Linked DNA regions of Homo sapiens: all the other regions are linked to region 3. Evidence: promoter capture Hi-C in 16 types of primary human blood cells and fetal thymus (Javierre and others, 2016). All regions are on one chromosome and are shown on one strand. Each heading gives the region's core, a stretch centred on a gene start or on the middle of the fragment in contact. The rest is flanking DNA. Distances are from core to core; before and after follow the strand shown.

Region 1 (2,749 bases), core at 38-2,537, about 11 Mb after region 3:
CAGCTCGAGCAGCGGCTCCGCCCCTCGGTCGGAGCCATAGAGACGTCGGCTGCCGGCCAGAGTGGCCTCAGACCGCAGCGTCGGCCGAGAGGACGCCGGGATACTGGCCAGCTCCAAGTCGAAAGGAAGCGACGCATGAGTTGTTTGGTGCGGTGGGTAGATACCTCGAGTTTCTCCTCGCCCACCGTAGGCCCCGACCCCTAAAAAGGAAACTTTTGGGACGTCAGAGTGAGAGGAGAAAAGTGTCTTTTTAGTTTAGTTTTGTCAAACCTGAGGATTCGTTTTTCAGTTTAGCCGGAGCTGTGCCGCAAACGTAGCTGCCGACATCCCCACGACGCACCCAAGTGGTGGCCCGGAAGCTGGGGATAGAAAAGTGGCCTCCCCGAATGCCAGGCACACAGGCCTTACTACCAGAAGCTTGAGCTGGGAGCCTCGGCCGTCGCATCTCTAAGGTGCAGCGATACGGCCAACTTCCTTCCGCGAAGCCCTCAGGGTGGGCAACGGAGCTTTTCACCAGACTGAGGGACCGGGCGACCTGGCCGACCGGCGGCTCCTCACCGCCCCCTTGGGGATTTCTTGATAATTCTTTGCCACGATGCGGGCGGATGTTGTGGAGCTACTGTTTGTAGATCGCAGTAGCGTGACAGCACTTAATCATGACTACTAAATCCTCAGAAGTCGAAAAAGCAAGTCCATACAGAATAGTTTGACCCTAATTAAATTGCGCTTACAAGATACAGTTTGTTTACTGGGACTTTGGCTAGGTCCCATCCCGTCTCTGCCTCAGAGTGGTGGTTGCTCTTAGCACCAAGGAAATACCAGCTTGACATTTGACTCTAGGAAGCACAGGCCCAAAAGAAGAGGCCCAAGGAGGGACATTCTTCTTTCCCTTTCCTACCTACAGTTTCTCAAACCAAGTGTCAGATGGAAAGCAAGGGGTGGTATCATCGTAATTATACAGTTGACCATAGAAAATAAATTTCAATCTCAAAGTAAACTCCTAGGCCACCCCCAGAATCTTAGAGTTTCTCAATCATAGAACTCATTTCTTGTCACAGTCTTGGTTCTTAGCCAATGTAAAACACCCAACTGACAGGGAAAATTAAACACCTTTTAACTCCCACACACCTTAAATGAGAATTTAAAGTATCTTTCAGCAAATGTATTTATAATTTTGAGTGCTTTTAGCCATGTTAAGGACAAATTTTCTCCTTCTGAATGCAGTAATAATTTGGCATTACCCTTTTGGCAGTGTGGTACAAAGTCTTATAATCTAGGCTTTATGGAGCTATTGAGGAACAACATAGATGGCTTCATGCAAACCCAAACAATGTAATAGTAGTTCTTTTCTCTGTAGTCGGTCTACTGCCTGTAGATGTTTATTCCTTTTTTTTTTTTTTTTTTTTTTGAGACAGGGTCTCCCTCTGTCACCCAGGCTGGAGTGCAGTGGTGCAATCATAGCTCACTGCAGCCTTGACCTCCTGGGCTCAAGGGATTCTCCGGCCTCAGCCTCTGGAGTAGCTGGGACCACAGGCACATGCCATCGTGCAGGTAATTAAGTTTTTTGTAGAGATGGGCATCTCGCTATGTTGCCCAGGCTGGTGTTAAAGTCCTGGGCTCAAGTGTTCCCCCCTCCTTGGCTTCTCAAAGTGTTGGGATTACAGGCGTGAGCCACTGTGCCCAGCTTACTGATTCATTTATACAAACAGAGTGCTCTCAGTGTGCTACAGAATGACTATGGAGCTCAAGTTCTAGTGGAGGGTGTGAGCCACAAGGAAACAAGCTAGACAGATTGTAATAAGTACTATAAAGGAAGTAAATAGGGTGATGTAATAGACTTGGGAGATGCTAACTTTAGTCAGGTAGTAAGGAAGGCCCTTTTGAGGAAATGGTACTTGTTTGAGAATTGAAATGTGAAGGAATCCAGTGTCAGAGGAACTAAAAAAAAAAAAAGGCATTGTGCCCCTTTAACTTAGTGACATTATCATTCCTGATCTACACTCTTCTCCCCATTTTTCTCGTTTTCTCTGTTACTGCTTCCCGTTTATTTGAAGAGCCAGGTCTTTTATAGAAATCAGAAAATTAGAACATTTCTGGTTGTGTTTGGTGTAATCTTGACGTCATTATAGATATTTGGTTTTGTTCTTTCTTAATAGACAAGCTTATAATAAATAGCACTTTTGGTGAGCTCATTTCTGTTAAACACTTTGCAGCATAAATCTTTTCCTGTGTTCAAAAGAAAGTATCTGGTTCATGAGACAGTTTAGATACAGTCTTTGCCAAAGTGCCTGATTTTTAGTTTACAATGTTGCTTGTCTCCGTTTTTGTTTTTGAGATGTAGTTCTTGTCTCATAGCTCTACTGAAAAATACTTGGAGTAAAGGGACCAAATAGCAAGTGAACAAATGCACAATTCTGCATATTAAAAAAAAAGAGGCTGGGTGCAGTGGCTCACACCTGTAATTCCAGCATTTTGGGAAACGGAGGCAGGAGGATAGCTTGAAGCCAGGAGTTCAAGACCAGCCTGGGCAAGATAGGGAGATTCCTGTCTCTACAAAAAAAATTTTTAAAAATTAGCCAGGCATGGTGGTACATGTCTGTGGTTCCAGCTACTCAGAAGGCTGAGGTGGGAAGATCCCTTGAGCCCACAAGTTCAAGGCTGCAGTGAGCTATGATTGCACCACTGCATTGCAGCCTGGGTGACAAAGCAAGACCGTATCTCAAACAGTAAAAACAAACAAAATGAAAAA
Region 2 (2,700 bases), core at 38-2,537, about 11 Mb after region 3:
GTCTCCCGACTCCAATTAGGTCAGGCTCGGAGTCCCGCGGCCGCGGCTCCGGTCTCAACGCTCCGGGGCCGCTCGGCTCGCCTTTCTTCCCTCGCCTTTCTCTCCTCTTGCTTCACCCTCCCCCCTTCTTTTCACGTTGCTGGTTTTTTTTGTTGTTGTTTTATGCTTTAGGGGTTTTGTTCCTCGGCTCGAGCTCATGGGTGTACATTATCATGCTCTTCTTTTGTAGAGCAGCCCGACGGCCATGGAGGCTGAAGAGACGATGGAATGCCTTCAGGAGTTCCCTGAACATCATAAAATGATCCTCGACCGATTGAATGAACAGCGAGAGCAGGACCGGTTTACTGACATCACCCTAATTGTCGACGGTGGGTAGGGCAGTGGGCAGAGGAGCGAATTTTTGGCTTCAGTTTTTTTCTGTCCTTCGGACACCCGCCTTTTTTTTTTTTTTTTTTTTTTTAACCCATCCTCTATGGTCTCCCTACCAAAGTCTGCAGAGTGTGTGCACTGGGACCAGATTGCACTTGTCAGTGTCCACTCACACAGCGTGCTGCAGAAGGCTGGTTGGTCAGTCATGCCTTCCACGTAGTCTGGTGTTCATCTCATTTTAACTTCTTACATCCTGTTGAGTGCAAGATGATGTCGTTGGGGACAGATTGTCTCAAAATGTTTGGTTGATAGCCTCTTGTTGGTAAGCTTTGAGAAGTCCCTTACAGGAGTCATTTGGGAAGTGTTGATTTTTTTTCTAGTTTCCCAAATGGTCTTGAAGGGAGAATGAGAGATTCCATTGCAGCACTCATACCCCCTTTGAGAATCTCCAAAATAAAATGGGGTCTTTACCAGCCTTAGGAGTTGCCTCTATAATGGAAGGAAATCCAGCGTGGGTATGTTTTCTGTTTAGCGAAAATAGGTTTCTCAAGGTAACCTGTTTTTAAAATTATGGGTCTACCATAGATGGAGCTTCCAAATATTAGGCATATTAAAATGTTTTTCATAGCAGACATATCCAGCTTTGTGCTTACGGTTTTTTTCTCTCTTTCCAAATGATATGTGACCTTTTGGGTTGTCCTTTTATTTAGCAGTTTCAACTGAGTTGGATATGCTTCTCACTACTTAATTGGAAACAACAGAGTGTCAAGAGGCTCCTTACCTAGTGTTGTAAATTAGGCTTTATAAAACTAAAGGGGTTTGAAGTGAAGATTTAGCTTTATATCTAATTGAGATTAACATTTGCCAAGATAGCTGCCAAGAATATTCTGCATTTAGTTCAATAATTTCTGTAGTTACGTAATGAAGGAAGACCTATTTTGCTTTATATGATTTTTAAGTCTATTTTGTAGTTATACATTTGATTTTCGTGCTTGTGTATGATTTTCTTTTTTTTTCTTATTTTACCTAGGACACCATTTTAAGGCTCACAAGGCTGTTTTGGCTGCTTGTAGTAAGTTCTTCTACAAATTCTTTCAGGAGTTTACCCAAGAACCATTGGTGGAGATAGAAGGTAAATGATTCTTGTTGTTTTTTTATTTAATAAATCAAAGAAGCCATTTTATTTAAATGCTTGTTTTAAATACAATACTTAGCAAACAATTGGTGAAGCAGTTTTAGACAGTTTATCAAGACACCATAGGAAATAGGCATCAGTAGTTCCTGTAGGTAAAGGTAGATAAATTGTTCTTTTGATACCTGAGAAGTCTTACTTTCAGTGAAGTGCTTGGTTGAATGATCTGCCAGGAAAAACTTAGATGGTAGATGTTGGTCTTTTCCATTGTGGAAACTGGTGGTCATTGTTTTTTGAAAACAAGTATTAAACGTGAATTACTATCTTTGTTCAGTGGGCTTATGTTTCAGACTGCTGGAGATGCTGCAGGTTACAGTAGAAGCTTTTACTGTACTCTATAGCAGAAGTAGTGATGTATTAGCAGAGGTACAGATGACATGCAGTGTGAAGTGGGCTGCCATAATAGGGAGAAAGCTAGGAAAAATGAACTGAAGTAGCATTTAGAGGAAATTCTGGCTCTACAATGGGATGGATCAATACCTGTTACCTTGAAGCAAAAAGTGATTTTTGTACTTTCTAGACATTTTTCTAATAATAACCTGCCAAGTGCCAGGCGTTGTGATATGTAGTTTTGTGTATTGTCTAAGGCTCACAGCAATCGTTTGATGTTGGGCAGGATGGCTTGTGCTTGTAGTCCCAGCTACTCGGGAGGCTGAGGCAGGAGGATTGCTTGAGCCCAGGAGTTCGAGGCCAGCCTGGGGCAACATAGACCCTGTCTTTTCTTTTCTTTTCTTTTCTTTTCAAAAAGGGAAGTGGTGTTATTTGTAATAATTTACACTTCAGGAAGCAGGCTCTAAAAGGTTACTTGCCCAGGGTTGTCCAACTAGCAAGGAATTAAGTTTGTGCTATTAATTACCATGCTTTTTCTTCTGCTACTGCAGTAACTCCTCCCCTACCACCAGCATCAAAATCTAAAACAGCAGGAAATAAATGTTTGCCTACGTAATTACAGAATTTTAGCTTCTTTTAGGGTTCTTGGGTTTTGGTTTTATATCTATTTCATTGTGTACGTATTCTTTGTTCTGAATGGGTTGCCTAGAAACTCCTTTTTTCCCTTTGATGCCTAGGGGAGTAAAGAAAACAAAAAAGAGTTAAGAATATTCTTTAATTTTGGTATATTCCAGTTTAGCATTATAGCT
Region 3 (2,738 bases), core at 56-2,555:
TCAAAGTCAGAATACAAAGAATTATCTATTGCAACTTCAACCCACCTGAAGCTTTGAGGCCTCTGATCAACTCACAAACCTACATTTCAAGCACTCGATGAAAAAGCCCTTTCTTAAGACGGCAAGACTTTGAGATTCATCAACTGATAAAATATAAAAGCGATACTAAAAATAATCTCTCACCTAATGTAAGTTCACCTAGAAAGTCATTTACCAGGAGGTTTCATGAGAAACTTAACTTAACTTTACTCAGTAAAAGAGCTTTTCCCTCTATTACCACTTCGCCTACGTTTTTCGTAATTCCCAACAGTAAGCTTTAACTGAAGAAGAAGAAAAAAAAAACATCCCCAGCAAGCAGATCCGGGCACCCCTCCCAGGTCCTAAAGCCTGCAAAAACCCAAAGAGTTCGTGGCGCTGGTGGCTCCAGCTGTTAGTTTCCCGGGCAGTCTCCGGGTTGGATTTGCACCCTGGGGTCTACACGGGTTAAAAACGCGGAAAAAAGGCGACGAAGAAATACAAACTGCCAGGGTGTCGAAATGAAAGGAGCGACTGTGAAAGGGGTAAGGAAAAATCCAAGCCATCTCTACGGGGAGGATCCAGAAAGCACCAGCCGCGCCAGGGGGTCAACCAACTCCGACACCGCTCGGCGTCAGCTGGGCGCCACCAGGCGCGGACTTCGGAGCGAGGGCAGGTGCGCGGGCCGGAAGCCTCGGGCGCTCACCTGGCACCTACCTGGAGCTCACCTGGCGCCCGGGCCCCGCGCCGCCGCCCCCCGCCCAGCCCGCCGCGCCCGCACCTCGCGGTCCTTGAGGCCCAGCAGGAGCACTTCCTCCATCAGGGTCAGCCGCGTTTCCTTGGAGTCGCCCTTGTCGTCGTCGTCCTGCTCGTCGCGGCGGCTCTGCGCGTCGTCCTCGCTGCTGCCGGCGCCGCCGCCCGCCGCCCGCTCCTTGTCGGCGGCGTTGCGGGAGGCCTCGGTGCGCCGCTGCACCAGGCCGGAGCTGCGCTGGGTCAGCGAGGTCATGGCTCCCGCCGAGGCGCCGAGCCGGGCCGAGAGGGTCGCAGGACCGACCGGGTCGCCCTCCTCCTCCCCGCGCGGCCTCCGATCCGGGTTTCCGTGTTAAATCCGGACGCCGGGGCGACGTCCGTCGGCAGCAGGGCCGGGGGCAGTCATGAGGAAACAGGTCAGGGCGAAGCGGGCTGGCCGGGCGTCGGCGGGGCAGGAGAGGAGCGCCTTCCTGCCTGTGGCCGCAGTCCCCGAAACACCCCGAGCTCCAAGGCGGAGGCGGCGGCGGCGCCTTTCCAATATGGCGGCCCCGGCTGACGTCACCGGAGGATGTGGCAGAGTCGGCGCGGGAGAGCTGGGCCGGGAGGCGCCGGAAGCGGCGGCCGGGGATCCGCTGCCACTGCAGCCTACACCCTTCCCGGCCCTCGGTGCTTGTCTTTTCTTTGGCGTTCCTGCGCCCCCTGACCCGCGGTCCTGCAGTCCTGCTCCCGTGACGTGCCCTCCCTCCTTCCGTTCCCCGTTTCCCCTTCACTACCCAGGGCTGGAGCCTGAACCTGGCGGGGCCCCCCGTGAATGGAAGAGCCTGGGCCACGCGAAGGTGGACCCCACTCAGCCTCCAGCCGTGCCCTCCACGCCCCAGACACCGCCGTCTTCGGAGGCGACTCCGCGGTCGTGTGGACGGGGTCCCATTTGGACTCCGGGGTCTGCAGGATCGGCAGGAAGGACTTTGCTCTCTGCTGCTGGGCGGGGAGGGGTACGCTATCTGCCGGGACTCCCTAACCCTTTAGAAGGAGCAAGTGCGTCCAAATGGTTTGAAAGTGGACCTTTATTGTTTTCCAGGAGTAAGAAGATAGAACAGTTGACCAGTTTTGTTTGTAAAACTTCTTTCCTTGCCTCGGACTTGTGCTATAAAGTGACCAGGGCGTAGTGAGTACAGTTAGTACCGCACACGTTAGCACGCTCGACCTTAACGATCTTTTTATAGAGACAATAAACCTGCAGCGTTTCATGCCACGTCTTTGTACGCATCGGATGTCTCTCCGTGTAGTTACTAGGTGAAATCCTCTTGGCGTGCGCAAATTAGGTTAAAAAAATAGCTGTCAAACCTGAGACAGGAGTTGGAGGAGTAGAGGGTGGCGCTTGTTAAGTGAAACATTTAACCAGGAATGGTATTGTGTGCCATCCTGTATTAAACAATGTATGGACAGAGTGGAACAACAGCAAAGCAAAAAATAAAAATTTTTTAAAAAAAGTGATCATGGGCTGTGGCTAAAGAGTGCTTTAGATGGATTCTTCTCTTCCACAAATCCATTATCCAGAACTGCTGCTGCCTACCATCCCATGCCCTGGAAAGTGACAGTGCTAAATGAAGGGAAGAGAGGGTCCAGGGGGCACACCAAGTAGACCTTCCCTTTTTCCCACCTGTCTTGGTGAAGGTCGATTTCACCTCAACCAATTTCTCCCATTCACACCCTCTTTTTTTTTTTTTTTTTTTTTTTTTTGAGACGGAGTCTTGCTCTGTTGCCCAGGCTGGGGTGCAGTGGCACAATCTCGGCTCACTGCAAGCTCTGCCTCCCGGGTTCACGCCATTCTCCTGCCTCAGCCTCCTGAGTAGCTGGACTACAGGCGCCCGCCACCACGCCTGGCTAATTTTTTGTATTTTTAGTGGAGACGGGGTTTCACCGTGTTAGCCAGGATGGTCTCGATCACCTGACCTCGTGATCCGCCGGCCTTG

Evidence for each region. Contacts are between HindIII fragments. The CHiCAGO score rates a contact against its expected background, and 5 or more counts as called.
Region 1: a fragment that was not itself captured here is called in contact with the fragment with the promoter of GOLPH3 in region 3 in 1 of 17 cell types (total CD4 T cells); the score reaches 7.1 in total CD4 T cells.
Region 2: a contact is called between a fragment that was not itself captured here and the fragment with the promoter of GOLPH3 in region 3, in 1 of 17 cell types (total B cells). The highest score is 6.3, in total B cells.

Annotation. Positions count from the first base shown.
Region 1 is chr5:43,483,850-43,486,598 of GRCh38, forward strand. It overlaps C5orf34-AS1 (C5orf34 antisense RNA 1), which reads left to right and starts at 70. Exons shown (of 3, transcript XR_007058763.1): 1 at 70-152. It overlaps TMEM267 (transmembrane protein 267), which reads right to left and starts at 16. Exons shown (of 3, transcript NM_022483.5): 1 at 1-16. RefSeq lists a silencer at 1-101 and enhancers at 47-890, 156-345. The HindIII fragment of the contact is 1,744 bases long and covers 416-2,159 here.
Region 2 is chr5:43,121,810-43,124,509 of GRCh38, forward strand. It overlaps ZNF131 (zinc finger protein 131), which reads left to right. Exons shown (of 7, transcript NM_001330707.2): 2 at 230-368; 3 at 1,400-1,501. The coding sequence starts at 245. Among named protein-coding and RNA genes, the nearest start is that of ZNF131, 2.2 kb to the left of the region's middle. RefSeq lists enhancers at 1-192, 193-760 and a silencer at 1-46. The HindIII fragment of the contact is 1,187 bases long and covers 695-1,881 here.
Region 3 is chr5:32,173,014-32,175,751 of GRCh38, forward strand. GOLPH3 (golgi phosphoprotein 3) reads right to left here and starts at 1,306. Exons shown (of 4, transcript NM_022130.4): 1 at 797-1,306. The coding sequence starts at 1,021. RefSeq lists a silencer at 590-1,199. The HindIII fragment of the contact is 5,568 bases long and covers 313-2,738 here.